2 separate regions of the Homo sapiens genome follow, and region 2 is linked to region 1. Evidence: promoter capture Hi-C in 16 types of primary human blood cells and fetal thymus (Javierre and others, 2016). All regions are on one chromosome and are shown on one strand. The core of a region is centred on a gene start or on the middle of the fragment in contact, and the rest is flanking DNA. Distances in the headings are between cores, read along the strand shown.

Region 1 (6,132 bases), core at 430-2,929:
GAGGTCAGGAGTTCGAGACCAGCCTGGCCAACATGGTGAAACCCCGTCTCTACTAAAAATACCAAATTAGCTAGGGGTGGTGGCAGGCGCCTATAATCCCAGCTACTTGGGAGGCTGAGGCAGGAGAATCACTTGAACCCGGGAGGCGGACGTTGCAGTGAGCCGAAATCATTGCCTTTGCACTCCAGCCTGAGCAAAAAGAGCTAAACTCCATCTTAGAAAAATAAATAAATAAATAAATAAATAAAGGATTTACCAGAGCATCCAAGAAATATTATTAAATACTTGATCCCGTGAAACCACTCCCCTATCTGTTAACGATTTTTAAAATTTTACAGATTTCGAAAATCTTCTTCTTTATCCTTGGACCTAACCTATCCACAGGGTCCCTAACCATGCTATGCAGTTCCCACCTCTACCAGAAGTGCTGGGAAAATCACCTAGGTTATCTAGCTTCCCTCAAAGTATTTTACACTGTTGTGAGATTTCCTTTAAGATTCAGGAGCTAAAGTTTATTTTCTTTCTGGTTTCCTGGCGGAGCAAAGGCCCTGCACGTGTGAACGGAAACAAAACCCACACAGACTCTAGGGATGCCAAATATTAACACTGTGGGTAGGGGCACCTTCCTTCTCGGCCGAATTCCCTTTCCCAGAGAGCCTCCAGAGGGATCAGTCAACGCCCACTGAGCCTGGATCAAAGGTCAAGCTTGCCTGGTCAAGAAGGATCCTGGATCAAGCTTGAACCCGTTTCCAGAAACAGGGGCGTCGGGGCAGCAGCAAGCATTTTTACCACGCGCCCTAATGAGGTGGTTGCACAACAGGCTTTGAGGATTCCGGTTTAACAGGTAAATACCAACAGAGGATGAGCCGAGGGAGATGGGATCTGCTCCACGGCATCGATGGCATTTCGAGAATGTCTGCGTCGCAGAGCAAACCCAAAGTTTTAGCACATTACTCAAGAGTTCACCAGAGGAAGATCGCCACGAATTGAAATGAACAAAGTGAGAAAATGGGTGCTGTGTAGTCAACGCATCCGCGATGAACTCAAGCTGGGCGGAAAAATTCTTTGAATACTCCGGCTTTGTTTTGTGCTAAGACGGCAGAAGCCCCGAATTTCGGAGTTGGAAGACGCGTTTCTCCGTGTTCTCCGGCCCGTTCTCGGACTTCAGGGCCGCCCGCCGCGCACTCAGTCCCGTAGTTCCCCGGGCTTCAGGCGCGGACATTCCGGGGGGCGGAAACCAGGGAGCCGCGGGGAGGCCGCGGTCCGGCCCGCGACGCCGGGGCCCGGAGAAGGGAGGCGAGAGGCCTCCCGGAGCTCGACGGAGGGAGGGGAGGGAACGAGGAGGCCGCGGGCCGGAGCGGGGAGCAGCCCCGAGCGGCGCCCGGCTCGGCCCCCACCCTGAGGCCCGGTCCCGCGTACCTTTGGCAAGGGCTACGGTGGAGTTTTCGGTGTCGATGGTGTAGAGGATGCCCTCGTAGCGGATCTCCGCCTTGGAGATGAGGCTGATCTTGCTGCCGATGTAAGGGGTGCCCCCGCTCATGGCGCCGCCGCCGCCGCTCCCAGCTGCTCGCAGAGAGGCAGATCCCACGCCACTGTCGCCCGCTCCGCACGCCCGCTCGCTCCGTCGGCGCCTACAGCAGCCGCTTCAGACCCAACATGGCGGCGGCGCCGGCTCCGCTACCCTCCCCCAGCCTCCCGCCCTCAAGCCGCGGCGCGGCGGCGGCGGCGGCGGCGGCAGCGGCGGCGGCGCGGGGCATGCTGGGAGGGCGAGGCCGCGCTCTCGCGAGACTTGGCCGGCTACTGGTGGCTCCCGGCTCATTCGTGGCCTCGGGAGTCCCGGCAGCGCTTGTTGGCCTGGACTACGGTGGTGGTCTTGGGGCCGCGTGAGAGGAACTTCGGGGACCGGCTGAGTGCCTCGTGGCACCCGCTTGCTGCGGGCTGGAGAGGAGGCGCGCGGCCTTCCTTTTGACTCAGGCCGTGGCCGCCTTGTCGTGGGTCCTGTGTCTTTGCCGACGCGGGGCCCTCGGCCTGGAGCGCTGCCCACCCGCCTCCGAGCTGTGGCGAGCCGCTGCTCATCCTTCTAAGACGCTGAACCTGCACCTCGTGGAGCTCCTACGGCTCCATTACCGCAGTCATCGCCCGGGGAGCTTCCCCCGAGGCTGCCCCTGGAGCTGGGGCTCTCACAAGGACTCAAGTGTTTCAGCCCCTTCCTGTCCCGCTCATTCAGCCGGTCTGAACCAGTTTCATGGCTTGCAACGCCATTGTAACTCACTAATCCCAATTATCAGTATGTAGCTTGGATCAATTCCGTGAACCAGGGTTTCTGTCGAATCTCAAACGTTAAGGGTCCAAAGCCATGCTCCCTGTTTCCCCTCTAACCTGCTCCTTCACCACCGTTCCCTATTTGATGTAAACGGTACCATTTTTACTCAGCTGCTCAGACTAAAAGCCGTGAGTCAGCCTTGCCCTGTCTTGCTTCCACATCTGTTCTGACTACACCTCTCCGTTATGTATACACAATATATCCTAAATCTGACTTCTCATCTCCATTCCTACACTTCTCCCACAAGCCACGATTACTCGGGCTGAATTATTGCAGTAGCCTTCTAAAAGTTGCCTCTGTGTCAACTCTTGCCCCCAGTACTTTATTCTCAATACAGCAGCCAGAGAGATCTTCTTAAAATCTAACTCAGGGCTGGGCGCAGTGGCTCACGCCTGTACTCCCAGTACTTTGGGGGCCCGAGGCGGGCGCATCACCGGTCAGGAGTTCGAGACCAGCCTGGCCAACATGGTGAAACCCCGTCTCTACTAAAAATATAAAAAAATTAGCCAGGCGTGGTGGCGCGCGCCTATAGTCTCAGCTACTTGGGAGGCTGAGGCAGGAGAATTGCTTGAACCCAGGAGGCGGAGGTTGTGGTGAGCCGAGATTGTGCCACTGCACTCCAGCCTGGGCGACAGAGCGAGACTCCGTCTCAAAAAAAAAAAAAAAAATCTAACTCAGATCATGTCCTTCCTCTACTCACTCTACTGATCCCATGTTACACAGAGAGAAAACCAGACTTTGGTGTCTAAGGATATACATGATTTAGCTTCTCGTTCTGTTCCAGTCGCGTCTAATTCAACCAGTACTTGAGCACTTTATTCCAGTCTCTGCTCAAGCATCACCTCCAGAGATGACGTCCCTGACAGCCTTGTTTAAAATAATACCACTCATCTCCTTAACTCAGCTTGTATTTTCTTTATAGCATGTATCTCTCTCAAGTATGTCTGTTTAATTATTTGTATGTATCTGTCTCCTTCACTAGAATGTAAACATTTTGAGATAGTGATGTTGTTTTGGTTGCTGCCGTATCATCAGGGGCCTAGTAACAGCACGTGGCTCAGGGCAGCTGCTCAGTTAATATTTGCTGCATGAATGAACAGCAGGATGAAGGCAGAGCACAGGCAGGACGGTGAGCTGAGTGAGCAAATGGCGAGAAGCCTGGCATCATAAGAGAGGGACACAGGAGAGAGACAGAGCTCTGATGGGGCTGGTGCACAGTGGCTACAAAGAAAGGTTTGGAAATCCCTGTTTCAGTACAAGGTCCATGCGAGGAAGTTGAATTATTTGTTTTTGTTTTTTTGAGACAGTCTCACTCTGTCACTCGGGATGGAGTGCAATGGTGCCATCTCGGCTCACTGCAACCTCTGTCTCCTCTGTTCAAGCGATTCTCCTGCCTCAGCCTCCCGAGTAGCTGGGATTACAGGCGCATGCCACCACGCCTGACTGATTTTTTGTATTTTTAGTAGAGATGGGTTTCACCATGTTGGCCAGGCTGGTCTTGAACTCCTGGCCTCAAGTGTTCACCTGCCTTGGCCTCCCAAAGTGCTGGGATTACAGGCGTGAGCCACCGTGCCCGGAAATTCTTTCAAGGCTAAATAATATCCCTTTGTATGGACATACCATATTTTGTTTATCCATTTATCAGTTGATGAACATTTGGGTTGTTTTCACTTCTGCTATTATAAATATCCATGAGTACCTCTATGAACAAGTTTTTGTGGGAACATGTGTTTTCAATCCTCCTAAGAATGAAGTAGTTGAGCCATATGGTAACTCAGAGTTTAACTTTTTGAGGAACTGTCAAACTGTTTTCCAAAGCAGCTACACTATTTTACATTTCCACTGGCAATTGTATGAGGGCTCCAATTTTCTCCACAGCCTCACCAACACCTATTATTGTCTATCTTTTTTTGTTTGTTTGTTTGAGACGGTGTTTCGCTCTTGTTGCTCAGGCTGGAGTGCAGTGGCGTGATCTTGGCTCACCGCAACCTCCGCCTCCCGGGTTCAAGAGATTCTCCAGCCTCAGCCTCCCTAGTAGCTGGGATTACAGGCATGCACCACCAAGCCCGGCTAATTTTGTATTTTTAGTAGAGTGGGGGTTTCTCCATGTTGGTCAGGCTGGTCTCAAACTCCCGACCTCAGGTGATCCGCCCTCCTTGGCCTCCCAAAGTGGTGGGATTACAGGCGTGAGCCACCGCACCCCGCCATTTGTGTATCTTTTTGAGACAGGGTGCCACTCTGTCATCCAGGCTGGAATGCAGTGGCCCTATCATGGCTCACTGCAACCTTCCTGGGCTCAAGCAATCCTCCACCTCAGCCTCCCAGGTAGCTGGGACCACAGGTGCAAACCACCATGCCCAGATAATTTTTGTATTTTTTTGTAGAGACAGGGCCTTGCCATGTTGCCCAGGTTGGTCTCAAATGCCTGGACTCAAGTGATCCTCTCGCCTTGGCTTCCCAGAGTGCTGGAATTACAGGCGTTGAGCCCCACACCCAGCTAAACACTTTTAAATTGGGCAATTTTTCTTTTTATTGTTGAGTGGCAAGAGTTCTTTTATATATTCTAGATACAAGTCCCTAATCAGATCTATAATTTGTAAATAGTCTCTCTTATTCAGCGGATTGGTTGTCTTTTCACTTTCTTGATAGTGTCCTTTGAAGCACAAAAGTTTTTAATTTTTATAAAGTCCAGTTTATTCATTTTTGTTGTTGTTGTTGTTTGCACTTTTGGTGTCATATGCAATAAAGCATTGCCTAATCCAGGATACAAATATTTACCCATAATGTTTGCTTCTAAGTTTTATGTGTTAGCTCTTACATTTAGGTCTTTGATTTATTTTGAGCCAATTTTTGTCTATGGTATGAGGGGGACTTCAAATCTTGCCTGAAATAGAGATGGGATTAAGAAGCTTTCAGATCAAACAGGAGATGGAGTGATTACAGGAGGAAGAGTGAGATGCATTCTGGAAAGTAAGCAATTCAGTGTGGCCACAGCCTAAAGAATGCAGAGTATATTAGGAGTTATAGTGGATAGCAGTGGCCACACCAAAGGTGGTGAGGGTTGAGGGCTTTGTTTCTCCCATATTGTCCAACAGCCATCCCCTAGCCTCATAAAGTAAAGACAAATATAAGGAAAAAACAGTGTACTAGCTGGGAATTGCTTTGGACAAGCCTCGCAAATCCTCCAGATCTTCTTTCTTACCCCATAGCTCCTCAAGTGTAGAAATTCTAGAGCTTCTACTGCTGAAAACATGAATGGGGAAGAATTTAGTTTTTCTGCAGGTTGCCGGGAGCTCTTAAGCAGGGAAGCAACAATGGATTTTGGATCTTTAGGAAGCCTGCGATGGTCATAAAATGTGTCACGGTTCTCAACCTTGTTTCTAGTACATGAAACGGAGATTAATGTGCATATTACACTAGGGGCTACCAACTGATCAGCTGCATTATACATAGTTCCTGCCGCCCTAGGGTGCAGGAAACCATGAGTTGCAAAACATAAAGTAGAATCTAACAGATTGGTGACTGATTGGGTGTAGCCAGATAAGGACTCCTAGTTCCAGGACTGAACACCTAGGTCAGTCCTAGGGCTAGTGATGAGCATAAGGAGAACGGATAAAAGGAAGTTTATTTGGGGGGAGGATGGAAATACTAATAGATGCAAATAATTTTGCACTTGTTGAGCTGGAAGTGCCTGTTGGGACACCAAGCAATTGCGTCTATTTCATAATTGGTATGACCCTAAAAGTCAGGAGATCTGAAATGGAGGTGTACATTTGGAAATTGTTACAGATGGAAAAAGGATAAGCTCA
Region 2 (6,012 bases), core at 124-2,623, 870 kb after region 1:
GCCTACTGAGTAGGGGGAGCAAATCGTGCCTTGTCATTTTATTTGGAGGTTTCCTGCCTCCTTCCCGAGGCTACAGCAGACCCCCATGAGAGAAGGAGGGGAGCAGGCCCGTGGCAGGAGGAGGGCTCAGGGAGCTGAGATCCCGACAAGCCCGCCAGCCCCAGCCGCTCCTCCACGCCTGTCCTTAGAAAGGGGTGGAAACATAGGGACTTGGGGCTTGGAACCTAAGGTTGTTCCCCTAGTTCTACATGAAGGTGGAGGGTCTCTAGTTCCACGCCTCTCCCACCTCCCTCCGCACACACCCCACCCCAGCCTGCTATAGGCTGGGCTTCCCCTTGGGGCGGAACTCACTGCGATGGGGGTCACCAGGTGACCAGTGGGAGCCCCCACCCCGAGTCACACCAGAAAGCTAGGTCGTGGGTCAGCTCTGAGGATGTATACCCCTGGTGGGAGAGGGAGACCTAGAGATCTGGCTGTGGGGCGGGCATGGGGGGTGAAGGGCCACTGGGACCCTCAGCCTTGTTTGTACTGTATGCCTTCAGCATTGCCTAGGAACACGAAGCACGATCAGTCCATCCCAGAGGGACCGGAGTTATGACAAGCTTTCCAAATATTTTGCTTTATCAGCCGATATCAACACTTGTATCTGGCCTCTGTGCCCCAGCAGTGCCTTGTGCAATGTGAATGTGCGCGTCTCTGCTAAACCACCATTTTATTTGGTTTTTGTTTTGTTTTGGTTTTGCTCGGATACTTGCCAAAATGAGACTCTCCGTCGGCAGCTGGGGGAAGGGTCTGAGACTCCCTTTCCTTTTGGTTTTGGGATTACTTTTGATCCTGGGGGACCAATGAGGTGAGGGGGGTTCTCCTTTGCCCTCAGCTTTCCCCAGCCCCTCCGGCCTGGGCTGCCCACAAGGCTTGTCCCCCAGAGGCCCTGGCTCCTGGTCGGGAAGGGAGGTGGCCTCCCGCCAACGCATCACTGGGGCTGGGAGCAGGGAAGGACGGCTTGGTTCTCTTCTTTTGGGGAGAACGTAGAGTCTCACTCTAGATGTTTTATGTATTATATCTATAATATAAACATATCAAAGTCAATGTCGGTGTCTTTTTAAAACCAGAAAGAAGCTACTTCCAAGGTTGTCTGTGGGCCAGGTCACATTTGTAAATAATACAGCATTTTCCCTGGCGGCAATCCTGACTTTCATGAGCTCTCCATCCATCCTGAGCCCCTCTTACCCTAAGGGGGTGACTTACTTCCCCCAGGCAAGACAAATAAATAGCAGAGGACAAGGCTCCAAATGGAGTATGTCCAGAGCCTGAAGGCAGTCTCTTGGGGTCAGGGGAGGGGGCTGAAGGGGTTACTGGGCTGAGGCCTTGGCGAGGCTTCTTATCTGCCCCGGGGAGGAGGAGAGGGAGTCCTCTGCCTGAGGGGTAGGCCTGGCTAAGCAGCCCTAGGCTCAAGGAGCCCTTTGTGCAGACTTCCTTGCAAATCACCTACAGCTGCAGCCCTGGCCACTCACACACACCGCAGCTCCAGATTCCAGCAGGACCCTCGGCCAGCAGGAAGAGGCCTCCAGTGGTAGGACCCTCCAACCCTCTCCTCTTTCCCTAGACCATGTGGCTACACCCTACCCCTGCGAGGCCCGAAGGCAGCCTGAAGAGAGAGACCCCTCCATCCAGCCCTCCACACCTGCCCAGCCCCAGCCCTCACAAGAAAGGGGGCTGAGGCAGGCCTGCAACAGGGGTCTGGTCCTGCCCCACACACTGGCTGTTCAAGAACCCACCCAGCATCCACACTCCCCACTGCATTCATCCCAGACCCAGCAGGGGACTGAGTGCTGGTGTGCCCCCAACTCCAATGAGCACCCTGTAAGGTCAGGCACTCCGGCACCCCCTTAGCAGCAGTGACAGCCAAGCAAGGGAGGGCAGCCCTTATCCCTGAACTAACAAGGCCCGGGAGAAAGAGGCCCAGGAGGCTGATGGTGCTTTTCAGATTTTACCCTCACGGAGGGTAAAAGATAAATTGCACTTTTCTTTTTTTTTTAACTCTGTACCGAGAGAATGTTCACTGAGTGGCTTACTGTGTGTACCAATGCGGGCTGGGGCATTTTCGAGAAATTACACATTCCTTTTACACTCTGGAAGCTTAGCTTTACCTGCCTGCGTGGTTAGCTGGCACCCCTTCCGGCCCCCCACTCTGTCCTGTGTCTGGCCGCCTCCTCACCCACGGCCGCCCTTGGCAGAGGAGAGGCCACGAGCCCAGTGAGGAGGCGGCGCCTGCCCCGCCACCCTGGGAACAGAGGAGGCAGAGCCCCGCCGCGTGCCCCGAGGCCTGGGGCAGGTCGCAGCTTGCTAAGCCCCAGCAAACCCTCTGAGTTCAGTGCTAATTCCAGTTTTTCTTGTTTGAGGGGGCTGATCCCTGGCTTCCCCCTTTCCCCCCAGAACAGGTCCTAGGACGGGAGGGGGTGGGGCGACCCTCCTGCCCTCACTCCTTCCCCTCCTCTCTGCTGTGCCAGCCCGCTAGGGGCTTCCTCTTTTAAAGCTGATGGCTCCCGGAAGGGATCCCTCCTACCCCGAGTCCTCCTCCTGGTCCTGAGTTCCAGGGTGGGCTTTGTTAGGGACAAGAAGGATCCAATCACATCCAGCCCCAGGAAAGGGATGAGGAGGGCGAGGCCCCCGGGGGGGGCCAAAGTAGAGGGGAGGAAGGTCTTTTGGGCGGCATGGGGTGAACCTGCCCAGCATGTACCCCGTGTCCAGCTGTAGGGGCTTCCCGGGAACAGAGTCACCCTTGGCCACCCACCGCTTCCTGCAGGGTTCCTCACAGTTCCCCTCCTGACTACAGCCTTCAGGAAGAACCATTCCAAGAGCCCAGCACTGAACACACCTCAAGTATTTATCAGATGCCTACTGTATGCCAGGGCCTGCGCCAAAGATGGGGCACTGGGCTGGGAACAAGCCGACTCTGCTCTGGCTCTTGGGGAGCTCACACCCTTGAGGCCCTAAGCTGTGGTTTAAGGTTGCCAAGTGCAATGAAGGGGATCTCAGAGTGTGAACAGGGTCCACCAGGGAGGGCTTTATGGAGGCAGCAGCTTTGATGAAATACCTGGGGAGGGTGGCCTCCTGCTGGCCCCAGTCCCAAGATGCCTGGATGCTTCTCCTTTGCCCTGATCGATCTCCCCTTGACATGTAGCACCTGACTGCAGGGACCTCGCCCCCCTTGCTGCGCCACTCCTGAGCCCTGTGTCCCGTGACAGCGCTGTTCAGGGTTAGCTGGCCTTCAAGGAAAGGGCAAGGGTAGAAGGGAGGGAGGCATCTCCTCTGCTGCCAGATGCGTCCTGATGGCTTAGTGCTGTCACGGATATTACTGTTATCTCCTGGATCTCCTGGGAATCTGTGAACGTGGGGTTTGGCCCTGACACCTGCGATGAGCCACTGGGCCTGGTGAGGAGTGTCTGCCCCTCCCAGCTCTCCCACCTGCTCCTTCCCAGGCAGGAACCTGCCAGGCCTCCTCCAGGAGCTGCTGGTCTCACAGGAGGGGAAGGGGCCACTCATGGGGAAGGACAAGGGATAGCAGAAACCCCTGACTTTGTTTAGCCAAGAGGGGCCTCCAAGGCACCCACAGGCCTTCTCCAGGCATGGGGCAGAGTCCTTGCCTAGATGGTGTTGATATTCCAGCTGTTTCTTTCCTATACTAGTGAGGACGGGAAGGCTTTTCTGTTCTTTTCTTTTTTTAGAGACAGGGTCTCACTTTGTCACCCAGGATGGTGTACAGTGGTGCAGTCACCACTCCCACAACCTCAAACTCCTGAACTCATACAATCCTCGTGCCTCAGCCTCCTACTCAGCCTTTAAGTAGCTGCTGGGATTAATTTTATTTTTCGTAGAGGTGGGGGTCTCACTGTGTTTCCCAGGCTGGTTCAGAATTGCCGGCCTCAAGTGATCTTCCCTCCTCAGCCTCCCAAAGTGCTGGGATTACAAGCGTGAGCCACCCTGCCAGGCCTCTTTTTCCTTTCTTTAGATAAAACTAACCCACTAGCACCTTTGAAAGCTTTCTTGATTCTGTGAAAGACTCTTGCTATCTCTTCTCTCTGGACAACCCCACCTCTCCCCCTCCCCCACGCCCCTCTCTGCCGATGGAGTGTTTGACGTAAGCTGAGGCCCAGGGAAGATACCGATTCACTATCAAAGCATCCTAGCCCCATCCCAGAGCAATTAAAAAGCCAGATGGAATCTCTGGGAAAACGGCATTAATAACACGAACAATCTGTGTTGGCCGGGGGAACCCAGGAGCCCCAGGCAGGGGTGGGGCTGTGAGGGGAGGGAAGCTGGGGTGCCGAAGTGGAAGCTCGCAGCGACATCTCCACCCTGTTGTGGCGGCCGGGGATGGGGCCGCCGTAAGGGTATGCTAGGTCCAGCTGCAGCTGCACTGTCCCCTCCAGCCCTTGCAAGGCCCACAGTGCACCCTGGATCCTGGTGGCTGCAGACCAAGCCAGACAAATGTGGAACCCATTACTCAGACAGCTGCAGCCCTGGCCAGCCCCGTTCTGGCACCCAAGAGCTTTGCTTCCCTTCGGTTTGTTTTTATTTATATTTTTCTAGCCTTCTGGCCCCACCCACTAGGAACAGGCCTCTCCGGGTTTGGCTGGCATAGACACCCTTTCTCTCCATTTGCTGTGCCCACATCCGCTGCCTGTGCTTGACAATAGCAGAAGACAGTGTTGGGGAACTCCAGTAGGCCTGAAGTCCAGAAACTCCCCTTAGAATGCAAAGGCTGGGTGCAGTGGTTCATACCTGTAATTCCAGCACTTTGAGAGACTGAGGTGGGAGGATTGCTTGAGCCCAGGAGTTCAAGAACAGTCTGGGCAACATAGTGAGACCCTTTGTCTCCAAAAACATTATCCAAGTGTGGTGTCACATGCTTGTAGTCTCAGCTACTCGGGAGGCTGAGGTGGGAGGATCGTTTGAGCCTAGGAGTTGGAGGCTGTAGATCACACCACTGTACTCCAGCCTGGACAACAGAGCAAGACCCTGTCTCAAAAATAAGAAAAAACAGAATGCAAAGTGGTAGACACTTTGAGCAAGACCAGCTGAGCTCTCAAAAGCCAGCATGATTTCTGGGGCAGCGGGGCACAGGGTTCACACTGCCCAGCTACCTCGAGGGGCCCAGAAGAGGCTGGACCAGGGCGACAGGCAAAGAATCCTCTACGAATTCAAAGCCTTTTCTAGGCAGAGCCAAGAAGTGAGACTCTTCTATAGCAGCCCCGTTTTTCAGACTTGTCTGCAGGCTCACCCGACTTAAAGACGTAGTTCTCCTGCAGCCATCAAGCTGGGGTGGGAAACTAGCTTGTTTAAGAAACATCCTTTGTGGTTGTCACATAGCCAGAGAGCCATTTTCTGACACTCATCCTCACTGTCCCCTCATCCTCATCCTCCACCTTTATCCTCCCTGGAAACTCTTCTCCTCAAGGTCACACCAGCCCCTAAAGCCAAATCAAATGACCACTCCTGGGGTCCTTCCTGCCTGTCTTGGCCTCCTACTGAACTTGGCCGCAGCAGATTTTCAGTGTCTGGCTATGCAGATCTTGAACATACGTGTTTGAATGCAAGGATCTCTCTCCTTCTTTACAAGACATCCTCACCCTCTCCTTTCTATCCAAGGGTCCATTGGGTTGGCCCAAGGTCCGCCAAGCAAGCCGCACCATTGTCAGAGGCAACGCAAGAGCACAGTAAATAAGGCTCCCCCGTGGTGGCCCACTGAGTTGCAGCTTCTACAGTTACTTTGTTGTTTGGTTTTGTTTGACAAAGTCTCACTCTGTTGCCCAGGCTGGAGTGCAGTGGCGCAATTTCAGCTCACTGCAACCTCTGCTTCCCAGATTCAAGTGATTCTCCTGCCTCAGCCTCCTAAGTAGCTGAGATTACAAGCATGCACCACCAAGCCTGGCTAAATTTTTTTTTTTATATTTTTAGTAGCGATGGGGTTTCACCATGTTGGCTAGGCTGGCCTCGAACTCCTGACCT

Evidence for each region. The method cuts DNA at HindIII sites, captures the fragments that hold promoters and counts their contacts. A CHiCAGO score of 5 or more calls a contact.
Region 2: a contact is called between a fragment that was not itself captured here and the fragment with the promoter of LSM14A in region 1, in 1 of 17 cell types (M0 macrophages). The highest score is 5.2, in M0 macrophages.

The regions. Positions count from the first base shown.
Region 1 is chr19:34,168,051-34,174,182 of GRCh38, reverse strand. LSM14A (LSM14A mRNA processing body assembly factor) reads right to left here and starts at 1,679. Exons shown (of 10, transcript NM_015578.4): 1 at 1,420-1,679. The coding sequence starts at 1,540. The HindIII fragment of the contact is 4,496 bases long and covers 739-5,234 here.
Region 2 is chr19:33,295,011-33,301,022 of GRCh38, reverse strand. It overlaps CEBPA (CCAAT enhancer binding protein alpha), which reads left to right. Exons shown (of 1, transcript NM_004364.5): 1 at 1-1,089. Among named protein-coding and RNA genes, the nearest start is that of CEBPA, 4.5 kb to the left of the region's middle. The HindIII fragment of the contact is 1,537 bases long and covers 605-2,141 here.